Regions from separate parts of the Homo sapiens genome. Here region 1 is linked to region 2. Evidence: promoter capture Hi-C in 16 types of primary human blood cells and fetal thymus (Javierre and others, 2016). All regions are on one chromosome and are shown on one strand. The core of a region is centred on a gene start or on the middle of the fragment in contact, and the rest is flanking DNA. Distances in the headings are between cores, read along the strand shown.

The links. Contacts are between HindIII fragments. The CHiCAGO score rates a contact against its expected background, and 5 or more counts as called.
Region 1: a contact is called between a fragment that was not itself captured here and the fragment with the promoter of GRXCR2 in region 2, in 1 of 17 cell types (total B cells). The highest score is 5.3, in total B cells.

The regions. Positions count from the first base shown.
Region 1 is chr5:144,420,285-144,423,918 of GRCh38, reverse strand. All of the region lies in intron 3 of KCTD16 (potassium channel tetramerization domain containing 16), which reads right to left. Among named protein-coding and RNA genes, the nearest start is that of KCTD16, 250 kb to the right of the region's middle. The HindIII fragment of the contact is 2,157 bases long and covers 717-2,873 here.
Region 2 is chr5:145,871,215-145,874,735 of GRCh38, reverse strand. It overlaps GRXCR2 (glutaredoxin and cysteine rich domain containing 2), which reads left to right and starts at 1,722. Exons shown (of 3, transcript NM_001080516.2): 1 at 1,722-2,103. The coding sequence starts at 1,768. The HindIII fragment of the contact is 6,212 bases long and covers 1-3,521 here.

The sequences.
Region 1 (3,634 bases), core at 546-3,045, 1.5 Mb after region 2:
GTGTTCATGTATTTTATGTGTGGTCCAAGACAATTCTTCTTTTTCCAATGTGGCCTAGGGAAGACAAAAGGTTGGACAGTGGTGGATAAAGCATAATTCCCAGGGAATGGTTATTTATTACTTTTTTTCTCTTACCTCCTCATCCAATCTCTCAGTGAATCCTGTTCATTTAATCTGTAGAATTAACTAAGAATCTACCTACTTGTCTCATCTCCACTGGGTTAGTTCAAGGTTTTTCCATCTTAATTCAGGGTTTTCCCATTTTAGTTTCATTTACATTTTGTGCTAAATATTTTTGTTGTTGTGAGAGGTTGTCCTGTGCATTGTAAGATACTTAGTAGTATCCCTGGTCTCTCTCTTCTAGATAGCAGTAGCAACCCCTTCCCAGTTATGACAACCAACAGTATCTAGAGACATTGTCTAATGTATTTTCTGAAAGGGCTGGGGGATGGGAGGAATGACCTGACTGAGACCCGTAACCTAGACTAAGAAGTCATTATCTCTCTCCTCTGTGCCTGTAATATTCTCTGACAGGTCTGATTGTCCCCTACAGTTCATTCTACACATAGTAGCCAGAGGAATATTTCAAAAGCATAAAACCAATTATGTCACTCCCTTGCTTAAAAGCTGGCTTCCCATGTTCCCTTAATAAAATCCTGACTCTACTGGAGCCCATGTAATCTTATGTGACCGGTGTCTTTGCTCCATTCAAAGCTTATCATCTACCACTCCCTTCCTCAATCACTTCACTCTAGCAAAATTGGCCTTCCTTCTGTTCCTCAAACATTCCATGCTCATTCTCACACCAGGTCATTTGAACTTACACTTCTCTCTGATGAGAATGCCATTCTCTTTCATTTTTCATATATGGCTCCATTTTGTCATTCAAGTGACTCAAATGTCACAGTCTTAGGAGAATGATTAGTTGCTACTTCATTATCTATCTTTGCTACTATGATGTGAGCTTATAAGATAAAGGTCCTTGTTGGTCCTCCCCCTGTAGATGCTCACTAAACACTTGCATAAACTATTGCATAAGGTTACTTTCACCTCCTAACATCCACATGGGGTATATATTCATTTTTGTGATCTACTGTTTTCACTTAGCACTAGACAAGGAGTATTTTGACATATCATTAGATATGCTTCTTAAACATGTTTTCATTTTAAATGGTAACATATTCTTCTACAGAATCCCATAGTCCCCTTAATAAATATCCAATTTTTGAGGATTAGGTCATTTCTTTACTCTTTCATTATATAAACTCATTTACTGTTTATTCAGTAGACAAAGATGATGAGAAAATTTGACTTTTGCTGTTGTTCAATACTATCCCACATTTCCCCAACTAGACAACCAGAAATTAAACACATAGGGCTGTACTATTTGGAGACGGAGTTGAGATGGCTCTGTGCCAAGTAATAAGAATAAATAGCACTTGCTGAAAGTTTTCAGTACAGCCTGTTGTATTTTTCACACAAATAGGGGAGGACAAATACTTCTACTTGTGGATCCGTTTGAAATTTTTAAAATGTGGATGTTCTAAATTTCAAGATGCTTAAGAAAGTGAGAAGATGAATACATGGCACACCATTCCAATTCCCAAATCAACACACAATCAAACAGAAACATTTAGATGTAAATCAACAGCTTAGAAAGCCTGGTCCCTGATTCTCTTTGACAAATACTAGACCACAGCCTTGATGATTATCAGCTCAGCAAAGCTAATGGCATTCACTGGTTTTACATACTAAGCAGCCCAGAGTTTAGCCAGACAATTTGTTTCTAGTTTTACATTCTCTGCTTTGTCACTCAGAAAGCAGAGACTGTAGATGACATTTAAGAGTCAGAGTATGTGATAAGTAGATGAGGGACATTGGTTGAAATTCTGTCAGGGAACTCATACCAAGTTTTTTATTAAAGTTCTACTGCACATGTAGACAAATATTTTCCTATCTAGGGCCTTTATGGCTAATTCAACATCCCATGCCTTTTAGTACAAATAAGGTAAGATGACCCAAATTCTATATGATTTCTGTCCACTTGTTTTGGATGGCATTAGACTCTCCCCATCAGAGTGTCTCTTATTTACTTTCTCCCTGGATTCTAAGGGTTGACTTTGGTGTTTTCCAGAACAAGCCTATTCACATTCCTCATCTTTATCATTGTTCCTACAATCAATGTCCATGCTAGGTAAGCAAGTCCGGAATGTGCCGAAAGCTGCCAATCCTAGTATTGCTGGAGTAATTGTAACGTCTGTGCAACAGTGGAGACAGTAGCCCTATCTTTGTCTCTCTGCTACACTCTGTCACCTAAGGCTTTGAAAAAACAAATTCCTTCAGCACTGAGTCACTCTCTTACCCCACTGGCATTCAAACTGAGTCCAAGGAACCAGATGGAGTACTGATGGCATGATATTCTGTCTCGTTTCAAGTCCCAGGTACGCACAAAAATATTCTTCCTACTCCTTTATCCAATGTGCCGCAGTCTCCTTTATAAATCAACCCATGCAAGTAGATAACTGACTCCCCAGGACAATAGATTTACACATGGCCCAACTACAAAAACAAATTTGGACACAGGGGAACCTTAATATAGGTCATAAATCACCTTTTTGCAGAGAGAAGTGGGGCCTGAGAGACTCATTTGATTTCGCTTTGAGATTGTCTTTTGTTTTTTGTTTTGTTTTGTTTTGTCTGGTATGATTTTGAGAAACTCAGGAAATACCCACATTAAACCATTCAAAGTTAAGGACAAAAAACAAAATTTTTCAATTAAAAATAAGCAACCAATACATGTCTATACTTGCCCTGTGGCCTGTCACATAACAGCTGGGAAAAGGTCTGGGAAAACAGAATAACAAAGTGAAGCTTAAAACCACTGAGGTAGAGAAGGAGCAGAAAGATGCTTGAGATACTAGAATAGAAAGAGGCTAAAGCAGATTACATAAATCTGATTTCCTCTGCTCAAATTCCTTCTATTGGCTTTGAGATGACTTTCATCAAGCGTGAAATTCACATTCGGAGGGCAATCCAAACCAATGCCATCAGGGAAGTTATTCTGAGGGTTATCTGTGAGCACAAGGCAGCGATTTTTGCCCCAGTCTCTCTCCTTTGATAGGTTTCCCAAGAATATTGACCTCCAGGATATGCTGAGGCTTACAGACAGGTATTTTCTCTTTGGTTTTATCAGAGATAAAGCAAAGGGTTGAGCCACATATATGCACCTATACATGATGCATTAGACCCTACCCAAAATGAAAATTAAAAGCAGTTCCCCTGACAAAGAACACCCAAACATGGATTCAATCCTCAGCCTCTATAAAAAAAGTACAGTTGTTCTATTATAACCATGGCCTCTGAAGAGTAAAATCCATGAGTGTGCACACACACACACACACACACATTTAAATAAGTCACTTTGGACCCATATTTGATTCCTGTTTCTTTCTTATCTCCCAGACCCAATCAGCCACCAAGTTTGTCAATGTCACTTCCTTTATTGCTATTATTATTATACTTTAAGTTCTAGGGTACATGTGCACAACGTGCAGGTTTGTTACATATGTATATGTGTGCCATCACTTCCTAAATATCACCATAATCTGCCTCTTTCCTCTTTATCTCCGTTACT
Region 2 (3,521 bases), core at 473-2,972:
AGACTTAAGCCCTGATGCACTAGAAAAGATTTTTCAGCAAGAGACTGACACCTGTGGATTTGTTGTTTTGGACTATTGCTCTCACATCAATATGGAGAATGGAATTGGGGGTGAGTAGGGAAGTCCTTGGGAGACAGCTGCAACTTTAAAAATCAAAGTGATGAGGGTTTGCCCTAGGGCCAGGGTGATAGGGGTAGATGAAAGAAGGCAGTGGTGAAAGAATCCATGTGAATGGGCTGGGTGCGGTGGCTCATGCCTGTAGTCCCAGCACTTTGGGAGGTCAAGGCAGGCGGATCACGAGGTCAAGAGATTGAGACCATCCTGGCCAACATGGTGAAACTCCATCTCTACTAAAAATACAAAAATTAGCTGGGCATGGTGGCGTGTGCCTGTAGTCCCAGCTACTCGGGAGGCTGAGGCATGAGAATTGCTCGAACTCAGGAGGTGGAGGTTGCAGTGAGCCGAGATCGTACCACTGCACTCCAGCCTGGCAACAGAGTGAGACTCCGTCTCAAAAAAAAAAAAATAAAATAAAATAATAAAAAAAAAGAATCCAAGCGAATGGCTGTAGGGGAATAGGAGGGGTCAATTTGGGTAACTCAGTAAATGGTGATGCTGGTAGCAAAGACAGGGAGAAAGGCTTTACTCCACTTTCAGCTCCTCACATCCAACCTACCATTTTCTACCCAGCCCAAGGGCCCTTTTCTTTACAAACCTTCTTCCATCCTTGTCTCCTTAGAGACCACTTCCTTCCCAGAGTGGCTATTCTGGGATTCAGCTGTGGGCAGTTTGCTCTCTAAGCATGAGGTTATTATTTCACCTGTGTGAGGTCTGTATGGGATTGTAGGACTGTTCTCAGGCCCAGGTCACATGCTTCTGTGCTATTCACTCCAGCCACTAGTTCAGTGTCAGGCATTTACGAAGTCCAACAGGCAATGGGGACTTGTGCTGTGATTGCAAATGAAATCTTAAATGTAAAATACATACCAAGTGGAGGTGCTCTGGTTAGCGTAGGGGGAGAAGGCCCAGAATCCAGGACCCTCGGCCTTCTCCTGTTCTTAGCAGCAGCCTCCAAGAACCTCCACTGTATCTAGGACGTCATTCCCTCTTCTAGAACCAGAACTGGAAAACTTCTGGTTGTGTGGGCTGATCTTGGGTTTTGGAGTCAGATAGATCTGGGTTCAAATCCCTGCTCTGTCACTTACTTAGGTGTAATAGAGCAGACAAATGATGAAGATAAATGACAAGTGGCTCTAAGCCTCACTTTCCCCTGTGTAAAACAAAGGTAAGATTTTCTTTGTAGGGTTATCGTGAGGATGAAATAAAATAATGCATGTAACAATCTCTGGTACTTATGAAATGCTCACTAGATTTTAATTGTCATTGCTAACAATAAGAAGACACTTGTTAACTAATTGAGTGTCTGATCCTTATTGAATTGGCACATGTTCAGTCTAAATAAACTTCTTCATCCTCAGGTTAAGAAAGGTTAGGGTTGGGGTGAAGTCATGGTGAGCTTGGGATTATGAGAAGAATCAATCTTGTCTTATATTCCATCCACTCCATCAAACCAGAATCACCTGCCTTTTCATGAGGGTCTATCAATATTTAATGTATGGGTGTCAGTTGCTGTAAACTGACCATACCCCAGCAACAACTTGAATTAATTATATGCAGGAGGAGAGAAAATAAAATGCCTTTTTCTCAGAGGCCCAAGTTTCACCGGCTGCACGGAAGGCTGGAGACCACAGGGTCAACTTTCTGCTGATGGAGGACCCTGAGAAAAAGCTGAATCAGAAGAGTGATGGCAAACCCCGGAAAGTACGATTTAAAATCTCCTCCTCCTACAGCGGTCGAGTATTGAAGCAGGTCTTTGAGGATGGGCAGGAATTAGAGTCACCAAAGGAGGAATACCCTCACAGTTTTCTGCAAGAGTCTCTTGAAACAATGGATGGTGTTTATGGGTCTGGGGAAGTCCCCAGGCCCCAGATGTGCTCCCCTAAGCTGACTGCTCAGAGGATCAGTGTGTTTAGAGAGGGTAATGCCTACACCTTGGCAGGCGGCCAGCCTCGGTTCAACGATTACAAGGCGAATGACCATAAGGTTGGTATTGTGCATGGCATATAGGCTTTAAGGGTAGGGCTTCCTAAAACGTGTTTAGAGAAACTCCTAAATGGTTCAGATTTGTGTCTTGCTCCCCCTCCGGTACCAACCAGAACTGTTGGTGCACCAAATGGGAAGTTGTTATTAGACGAATATTTCTGGGGTAAAAATAACATGCTTGTTGACTACTAATTGGAAAGTGCAATGAGCATATATAGTATTCAAATTCCATCCAAGGTAATACATTGTAATTGGATCTTTGACTGAGTTTTCCTGGAATGTAAATTAAATAGAGGTGCAGTGGTTTTCAGGTTGTCAGACTGCGGTTTTAGACAATTATGCAGTCATTTTGTTTCCTGAAAGAGCTGAGTATTTGAAAGTGCTCATTTTACTCCAGCCAATTACTCAGCTTGCAGTTTATCCATGTCTTGTTTTTTACCCCTATTGCCTTCCTCATACTGCCTGCTTTGTCTATTTATTTTTCCTTTCCATTGCTCCTTAGCATAAGCTCTGGGTAGTTGGAGTCCTGGGAAGGGATGGTGAAACGCAAATCAGCCAGAGGATATGTTATGTGAGGAAGAAGTTTGAGCTAATGGTTCGATTGAAGAATGTGTTTAATCTATGAATTTCAATTACTTCCCAGTACCATGGATAATCAAAAGTCCATACATGATTTTCTTTTAAGGTAGAACCTGGAAAACATACACTGGTATCCAAAAATTCATAGGAGATGTATATATGCTGTCAGTGGGACCATGAATGACTTCTTAAAAAAGATAAAATACAATTATATAATGTATCCACGTTATTAATGAATAGCACACCAGGATGTGTTCTCATCTTTAAAGTGTGAAAGCCAGATAATTACTCTTGAATTATTTTTATTGTTAGTTTCCTAAGGGAATAGATAACACATCTATTGCAGACAAATGTATTACTGGCTTTACTGGCATTGGTAAAAGTATAATTATGGGCATGTTCACAATTACCGAAGATAACACTAGGCTTGTTTTTGATATTAAAAGGGGCTGAAATGAATGACCTCTTATCTTAATGGGGTGACGTATGCAGTACAAAGTGTCATCATGTACTATCTCTGTCTATATCTATGGCATTGGGTCTTTACTATAACCTTGGGGAGAAAGGCCAAAGTATGGTCATTCCCATTTTGCAGAAGAGAAAAATTGAGTGCCAAGTTGTTAAGGGATCCATCTGATACTACAGGGTCATTGGGTACAGAGTCAGAATAAGAATCCAGATCTTCTGATGCTACAAATGTTTTGCTTTAGGGCATGTTCCTTTTTTTAGAGAACCATATTATTACATAATAATAATAGCTACCATTTGTTGAGTGCTTATTAGGTCCTAGGCACTTGGCTAGTCTTGTACTTATACTATTTCTTTTTAACTATGTCTTA